3 separate regions of the Homo sapiens genome follow, and regions 2 and 3 are each linked to region 1. The links are contacts of gene promoters, found by promoter capture Hi-C in blood cells and fetal thymus (Javierre and others, 2016). All regions are on one chromosome and are shown on one strand. The core of a region is centred on a gene start or on the middle of the fragment in contact, and the rest is flanking DNA. Distances in the headings are between cores, read along the strand shown.

What was found. The method cuts DNA at HindIII sites, captures the fragments that hold promoters and counts their contacts. A CHiCAGO score of 5 or more calls a contact.
Region 2: a fragment that was not itself captured here is called in contact with the fragment with the promoter of THEM6 in region 1 in 1 of 17 cell types (neutrophils); the score reaches 5.8 in neutrophils.
Region 3: a contact is called between a fragment that was not itself captured here and the fragment with the promoter of THEM6 in region 1, in 1 of 17 cell types (neutrophils). The highest score is 9.2, in neutrophils.

The regions. Positions count from the first base shown.
Region 1 is chr8:142,725,773-142,728,472 of GRCh38, reverse strand. It overlaps THEM6 (thioesterase superfamily member 6), which reads right to left and starts at 1,250. Exons shown (of 2, transcript NM_016647.3): 1 at 614-1,250. The coding sequence starts at 1,126. It overlaps LNCOC1 (lncRNA associated with ovarian cancer 1), which reads left to right and starts at 1,500. Exons shown (of 3, transcript NR_038925.1): 1 at 1,500-1,751. RefSeq lists silencers at 505-754, 1,055-1,494 and an enhancer at 1,525-1,744. The HindIII fragment of the contact is 9,584 bases long and covers 1-2,700 here.
Region 2 is chr8:143,239,671-143,242,429 of GRCh38, reverse strand. No RefSeq gene overlaps it. Among named protein-coding and RNA genes, the nearest start is that of ZFP41, 5.9 kb to the left of the region's middle. The HindIII fragment of the contact is 4,207 bases long and covers 1-2,759 here.
Region 3 is chr8:143,262,584-143,265,300 of GRCh38, reverse strand. It overlaps ZFP41 (ZFP41 zinc finger protein), which reads right to left. Exons shown (of 3, transcript NM_173832.6): 3 at 2,596-2,717. Among named protein-coding and RNA genes, the nearest start is that of GLI4, 3.5 kb to the left of the region's middle. The HindIII fragment of the contact is 579 bases long and covers 1,064-1,642 here.

The sequences.
Region 1 (2,700 bases), core at 1-2,500:
CCCAGGGCCCCAGGTGCCATGCTGCAGGGGCGGTTCTGCCCTGCTGGGAGGAGCGAGCCCTGGGAGGTGCATGGCCCTCCTCTCTCCAACTGCAGAAAGGCCAGAAGGCTTTCAGCTACTCGGCTCAATACCTCAACCCCAAACCCAGGTGACCAGAACCCAGCCCTTCAGCTCTAAGCTGTGTGAAAGGGGGGCTCAGGTCCTCGGGAACTCCTAGGAACCTCTTCTAACTGATCACCTCTCCAACCTATATTCAGGACCAAGGACCAGAGAGGTCAACACTCCAGCCACAGAACAGAGTACCAGGAGAGAGGAGAGGGGTGAACACGAAACCGTGAGGGGCCAGGTTAAGAAATGGCAGGAGGGAAGCACGCTAAGCCCGACTATGAAGAGTTGATTCGGGGACCCTAGGAACCCCCACGAACAAAGGCATCAGTGAGGAATGCCCCCGGTAGAGAGGGAGGGGCGGGAGCGGTAAGAGGCAGGACTCCAGCAGTATCCGAAAGAGGTGCAGGCAGCGGGCCTTCCCTAGGGGAGGGGGCCAGGGACTAGGAGGAGCCCCCGGAGGTCCCACAAAGGCCGTGCTCCGGGGCCAGGGGCGGGGGCCGCTCACCCTGCGCTGGCACAGGTGCTGCACGACGCGCTCGGGTGAGGTGCCCAGCAGGTGCTGCCGGAAGCGCAGCAGCGCGCACACGAAGCCGTCCCGCAGGCTGACAAAGCGCGCCTCCAGGTAGAACGCGCGGTCGTCCCAGCCCAGCAGGCGGGTGCGCACCTCGAAGGGCTCCAGCAGGCGCAGCGAGCGGCGGTGGCGCGCGCACGAGGCCGCCAGCACCGTGTGCGCCCGCAACTCCCTCAGCGCCCCGAGCACCCCGCAGCGGGTCAGGTGCGCGACGCGCGCAAAGTCGGCCTCGCGCAGGTAGCGCGCGTTGTTCATGTGCAGCAGCAGGTCCAAGTCCGAGGGCAGCACGCGGCCCGGGAAGCGCTGCTCAGCTAGCAGGTCACGGACGCGCGGCTGCAGCAGGCGCGCGCGCAGCACGGCGCACGGAAGGCGCACCAGGTACCAGACGTCCAGCAGCGCAAAGACAGCGAGCCCCAGGGCCAGCAACGCCACCAGCAGCCCCAGCATAGCGGCGGCGGCGGGCGCGGGGTCCTGCGGAGTCCGTGGCGCCGGTGCCGGTGTCCGCGGCGCTGGTTACGGTGCCCGCCAGGCCTCCTGGGAACTCACGAGCGCAGCGCGCCCGGAGCGAACCACAGCGCGAGGGCGGCCGAGGGGGAGGGGCCCGGAGCCCCGCCCACCGTGGCGCGACCTTCTCAGCGCCCTACGTGGTCCGTCCCGCCGTCCAGGCCCGCGCCACTTTCGCGTTCCCTGGGGCGGGGCGGGCGGCGCGCTGAGCGCCACAGCGGCACCTGGCGGCCGTGCGCGGCGCTGCAGGCGCGAGGGTGCACGCGCGCCCCGGCGTCTCCGCCTTCCCAGCAGCGCGAGACCCTCGCCAGGCTCTGAAGACGCGGCCTGGCCCTGGCCGTTCGGCCCTTCGTCTGAGCGCAAAGGCTCCAGCACCTCCGCGGCCGAAGCCGCGGGACTTTTCGTGGAAAATGGGACCCAGCCCGATCGCCAGCGGCGCTGCAGCGGACTCTGCGGGAACCTAGCTTCTGCTCCAGGACCTCCAGGGCCACCCCAGCTCGCAGGGCGTTCGCAGCGGCTCAGGGCGAATCACGCTCATGGTCCCCGTGCGCATTTTCAGCCCCAGCCGGTACCTCCTTACTCGCCCTCACGACATTCATTCCACCCCCTAAAGGTCCTGCCAACCCCAGGCTCTTCCCGAGCATTCCCGCCCTTCCTCCCTTTTGAAACCGGAGCAAATCACGGCCGGGCGGAAGCGGGGGAGCCCGGGTGAGAGTCAGTGACTCAGCTGCGGACTCCAAGTGTCGCCGGAGGCCCTGGGGCGCAGGCCCAGCGGGCTGTCGCACAGCTCGGCTGTCCTGTGCCCCTTCCTGACGAGGCTGGGGAGGAAAGGCGGCCCAGAGAAGGCCGGACCAGCTCTCCCCGTCAGCCCCAGGCTCTCGAATGACAGCGGATGCCAGCGACCGGGGATGGGGTCCCGGAATTGCTGGGTTAAACAAGCTCCGGATTCAGGCCTGGGCCTGGGCTGGGGTTCCAGGGTTCTGGACCGCCCTCAAAGAAGGAGCTCCCTGGGGCGGCACCTGGCTCTGCTTGATAGCCCCAGGGACAGGGAGCTCACTACCTATCAGGGCAGCTCCCCCAGTGCCGAGACCAGCTCGGTCCTGGAGACCCTAACCCAGCGGTGCTAGAGGAATTAAAGATACACACAGAAATATAGAGGTGTGGAGTGGGAAATCAGGCGTCTCACAGCCTTCAGAGCTGAGAGCCTCCAACAGAGATTTACCCACGTGTTTATTCACAGCAAGCCAGTGATAAGCACAGTTTCTACAGATTATAGATTAAAAGTACCCCTTAGGGAAACAAAGGGATGGGCCAAAATAAAGGGGTGGGTTTGGCTAGTTATCTGCAGCAGGGGCATGTCCTTAAGTCACAGATGGCTCATGCTATTGTTTGTGGTTTAAGAACGCCTTTAAGCGGTTTTCTGCCCTGGGTGGGCCAGGTGTTCCTTGCCCTTATTCCGGTAAACCCACAACCTCCCAGCGTGGGCATCATGGCCATCATGAACATGTTACAGTGCT
Region 2 (2,759 bases), core at 227-2,726, 510 kb before region 1:
AAGTTTCAGTTATTTTATGAGATTCTTAGTCCAAGAGGGACCTTTCATGTCAGGGTAACAAGGTATGGTTTCTTTACTTAGTGCCTGTTATTTTATTTATTTCTCTATTATTTATTTATTTTTTGCAGGGGGTGAGGGGAGTCAGTGGAGAAGGGTGCTGTGAGGTTTGATTTTTTTTTTCTTTTTTTTGAGATGGAGTCTTGCTCTGTCGCCCAGTCTGGACTGCAGCAGCGTGATCTCGGCTCACTGTAGTCTCCACCTCCAGGGTTCAAGGAATTCTCCTGCCTCAGCCTCCCAAGTAGCTGGGACTACAGGCGTGCACTACTGTGCCCGGCTAATTTCTGTATTTTTTGTAGAGATGGGGTTTCACCATGTTGGCCAGGATGGTCTTGATCTCCTGACCTCGTGATCTGCCTGCCCCTGCCTCCCAAAGTGCTTGGGTTACAGGTGTGAGCCACTGTGCCTGGTCGATGTTTGACTTTTTAAAAAGGTCTTTTGTCTTTCAGCATCTTAATTTCCCCTTCTTGCTTCTTTTTCTCTTTAGTACCTGACTTTCAAAGGCTGCACCTCCCTAACTTTTTTTTTTTTTGAGACGGAGTTTCACTCTTGTTGCCCAGGCTGGAGTGCAATGGCACAATCTGGGCTCACTGCAACCTCCGCCTCCTGGGTTCAAGTGATTCACCTGCCTCAGCCTGCCGAGTAGCTCGGATTACAGGCACCCACTACCACGCCCAGCTAATTTTTTGTATTTTTAGTAGAGACAGGTTTTCACCATGTTGGCCAGGCTGGTCTTGAACTCGTGACCTCAGGTGATCCACCCACCTTGGCCTTCCAAATTGCTGGGATTACAGGGGTGAGCCACTGCACCCGACTACTCCTCCCTAACTTTTAACCCTCTTCTCTCCTGCGTTACCTTCCCAAGACTATCCTCCTGTGTCCCACAGTCTTTTACTATTTTGGCTACCAAGTCTCACTCTGTTGCCTCAGCTGGTCTAAAACTCCTGGGCTCCAGCAGTCCTCCCACCTCAGCTTCCCAGAGTGTTGGGATTACAGTCGTGAGCCGCTGCACCTGTTCCATAGTCATTTTAAATTTCTTTCCAAAATGTAGACACTTTTCTGTATTTTGGCACTCAGATGGACTTTCTTTTTCTGGAAAATGTTTTGAGAGCAACCTCAGGCCCACAGCCAGTTCCTTTTCTCTCTTCTGTGCAGTTTTCCTGGGTGGCCCTTACTTTGTGAAGGTCTGTGCAGGACACTGGAGAGAGAGCTCACTGGGATTTTGTGTTTTCTTTTCTTTTCTTTTTTTTTTTTTGAGACAGATTTTCGCTCTTGTCCGCCAGGCTGGAGTCCAGTGGTGCAATCTCGGCTCACCGCAACCTCCGCCTCCCGGGTTCAAAAGATTCTCCTGCTTCAGCCTCCCAAGTAGCTGTGATTACGGGCACGCACCACCACATCCAGATAATTTTGTGTTTTTAGTAGAGACGGGGTTTCTCCATGTTGGTCAGGCTGGTCTTGAACTCCCAATCTCAGGTGATCCACCCACCTCGGCCTCCCAAAGTGCTGGGATTACAGGCGTGAGCCACCGCGCCTGGCCTGCGTTTGCTTCTTTTTCCCTTTTTAATGCGGCTACGAGAACCTTAGCAGTGACCCCAGGACTGCTGTGCTGAACTCCTGAACCGCAGTGTTCGCTTCTTTACTGCCCAAGGATAAGAGCGTCAGCTCCACCAGGGTGCTTCACAGACAGCGGGCGCTCAGCTAGTGCCTGTGGACTGATTGACTGGCTGACTGATGAGCCCTGGGGTGCGGGTCCTCCTGGGGCCCAGGACTTGCACTGGAACCCCTGTGGGCATTGAGCCTGGGATACCAGCCTCAGTGGGTGACTGAGCCACTGACACTGCCCCTGGAGAGCCCATCGCCCTGGTGCCCTGTGCCTGTGGCATCCTTCTCCGCAGCGGCTGGCACAGGCAACAGCTGTGGCTGAGATCCTCCCGGCATCCTGGGCACAGGCATCAATCACCTAGTTTCGTGCTTGACTCACTGCTGGTGGTGTCTCCACTTTGCAGATAAAACAATGAAGGCTCAGAGGGTTTAAGAAACTCGACAGTGTCAAAGCACTGGGCCTGGACATCAGCACCACTGCTGGCTGTGTGCCTTGGGATGGTCAGTAGATTTCCTGTCAAATGGGGCAAGATGATAGCACCTGCCCTGTGGGGTCATTGTGAAGGCTACGTGAAAAGTCCTCACAAAGCCCTTAGTGCAGTACCCACTTGCTAAACTTGGCTTGTAATTTATAAGTTATTTTAAAATGGGGGCAATGTGCCCACTGGCTGCACCCATGGCCGTCTCGGGAGCTGCCATTGTCAGTGACTGGTGTGGGGCCAATCAGCACCTCTGCCCTCATTTCACTCTCTCTCCAGCCCAAACGTTCAAGGGGCTTAAAGAATCTTCCCACTGGATGGACTGAGCCATCCTAAAACCATCCTAAAACAGCGCCACACTTTTAGAAGCCAGAATCTAACTTTTAGAAGTTAGAAAGTTTTGATTCCGGTCGGGCGCGGTGGCTCACGCCTGTAATCCCAGCACTTTGGGAGGCCAAGGCAGGTGGATGATGAGGTCAGGAGTTTGAGACCAGCCTGACCAACACGGCGAAACCCCGTCTCTACTAAAAATACAAAAAAAATTAGCCGGACATGGTGGCGGGCACCTCTAATCCCAGCTACTTGGGAGGCTGAGGCAGGAGAATCGCTTGAACCCAGGAG
Region 3 (2,717 bases), core at 104-2,603, 540 kb before region 1:
CACTGCGCCCAGCTCCTCTTTTTTCTTTTCTTTTTTTTTTTTTTGAGACGGAGTCTCGCTCTGTGGCCCAGGCTGGAGTGCAGTGGCGCGATCTTGGCTCACTGCAAGCTCCGCCTCCCGGATTCATGCTATTCTCCTGCCTCACCGTCCTGAGTAGCTGGGACTACAGGCGCTCACCAACTTACCCAGTCTCAGGTATTCCTTTATAGCAGTGCAAAATGGACAAACACAGAACTACATCAGGAGAGCGGCGGACGACAATGCAATTGACTCGATGACAGGCTGCAGCTGCATTGCACCAGGCTGTGCAGACTCATTTTTGGGGGCAGCTGTGTCTTTGTATGTAGTTCTTGACGTCCTGTCACACGCACAGGCTGTTCTGTCACACACACAGGCTGTTGTCACCAGCTCCCTGTGCATCCAGCGCATCACGGGAAGCTGAGTCACCCAAGCTACCGTCCATGTCGGCTGACCCATGAGAAGCTGTGGAGCGTCTCACTCCCCAGGCCCTTTGGACAAATCCTCAGCCTGGCCAGCTCACAGGAGTGAAGGGAGATGGGAACGGGTGTAATCAGAGTGGAAGAATCCCCTTCCCCCACCAGGGAGGTGTGAAGGTGACGGGCAGGGCTTTGGAGGGAGTGCAAAGGTTGCTGATTTAATGAGCTCGGAGCCAGCAGCCAGTCTGGTCTGTTGGAGCAGCAGGTCCCCGCTCCTCACCTCGAGCAGGGTTTTGTTGGGTATTCACTGTAAATAATGAGCTAGTGTTTGTTATGCTGGGAGGAGGGGTTCCAGCCCAAACAGCCCCAGAGCCCCTGGTCCTAAGACGTGGGAGTCGGCCCACAGCCAGCCCCCCCAGCCTGTTGTCTTGATTTGTCCTCTTGGACTGTGGATTAGAAAAGGCCTCCATGGGCTTCTTTTGTTGAGATCGGGGAATCCAGTGCCTGTTCAGATACCCACACAGGCATGGCCTGCTCCAGCCAGTGCTGCTGGGGTTGGGGTGAGGGTGCCATCTGGACGGGCAGTGCCCTTGTCTCTAGGGGTCCCTGTGGGAACCTTCAAAGCTTCCCTGGCAGGAGGGCTGGTCAGAGACCCCGAGCCACTGGAGTAGAGAGGCTGAGAGCACTTCCTAGACCACACCTGGAGATGAGGGGCTTAGAGGAGTGGCCAGGCTTAAGGTCCAAGAAGGCTTCTCTAAGGGGCAGCATCAGAGAGAGATAGGGGTTGGAGCAGGAAGGAGGGAGGGGAGGCAGCAGAAGGGAAGGGCCAGCCCATCACAGAGAGGCAGGAGGGGCGCAGGGGCAGAGGTCTGATGCCTGAAGGAGTTGCCTGGGGTTCGAGTTTGGAAGACCAGGCAGGGGAGTGTGGTGAGCAAGGGGAGGACAGAACGGGATGGGGACAGACCGAACAGCCTTGACACCTCCACTGGGGGCTCAGACGTCATTCTCAGGGCACTGCGGGGCACAGGGGTCTGCAGGGAGGGAGGGAGGAGAGCTGACATGCACTGAAGATCTGCCTGGGGCTGTGGGGTAGAGAAGAGCAGGACAGAAGGGAGAGGGGGTCAGTGGCTGCAGTCCCCTGCACGTGACACAGCTGGCAGAAGTCCGCCTAAGTCCCAGGCCGGGATGCGGATGATGAGGAAGCTTTAGGCCTGGGCTGGTGGGGCAAAGACGGGGCCACTCTGGGTGTTGTCCTCAAGAGTGGAGAAAGGCAGTCAAGCACACTTGCCTCTCGCCAGCGCCAGCCACCGTGTCGCCTTGCTGGCTTGGTTGCAGGGGAGGGAGAGCTGGGAGGGTTCTGGTTAAGTGTGTGAAGGCATGACCAGTCTCCATCCCCACATCTCCAGCCACCGCAGAGGCTTGTTCCCGCACCGCTCCATGCCTTTCCAGCTTCTGGAACCCCAGGCGTCTCTGGGCGGTTCCCTGGGGCCTTGAGAGCCACCTTTCCCGTCCTTTTCTTTGTCGTCACAGGGTCTAAATCTGTATCTCTCACCTGCAGCACCTCTGGCATCTGGGCAGGACCCCCGCCTCTGCACACCAGATTCCGGTGGTGCCCCCGCCCAGCTGTGACCGCCAACACGGTCCCGGACATTGCCGAGTGGGCCCCAGGGGCAGAAGTACCCCTGGTTGAGAGCAACTGCCCTGACGAAGGAGGTGCGAGCCGGGGAACAGAGGACCAGACAAAAGTGAGTGCTGTTTGGAACTCAGAGGGCCTGGAGAAGGGCTGAAGACAGGGCCTGAAGAAGGCGTTCAGGAACCCCGGGGCCTCCTCTGGGGCATCCTGAGTGCAGGCACTAGGCCACCTAATGAACCCTTAGCTTCCCAGGTATCCGGGGCCAGAAAGGCTGAGAGCATTTCCGCACTGCAAAGGGTTGCTCCCATTGTGAGTTAGTGAACAACTTTCTCATTTATGTGTCAGTCTCCTGTGAGTCTGGCTAATGGGGAGTGGTCTTGTGGAGACCCATCACAGGCAGCGACCAGCCAGGGTCCTGTGGTCCTGGGAAGCAGCACCTGCACTGTTCCCTGGGAGGAAGCCGGTAGCCTTCGTGGGGTCGCTGACTGCATCCCCAGAGTGCAGAGAGCTCAATGAAGACAGCACTCGAGTCAGAAATCAATGTTTACTGCAGAGAACACAGAAGCCAGCAAGCAGTAGGCAAGGGAGGCGTCGCAGTGAGTGTGTCGGGCAGGCTGGGAACCAGCGCAACGGCCCACGTGGACCGA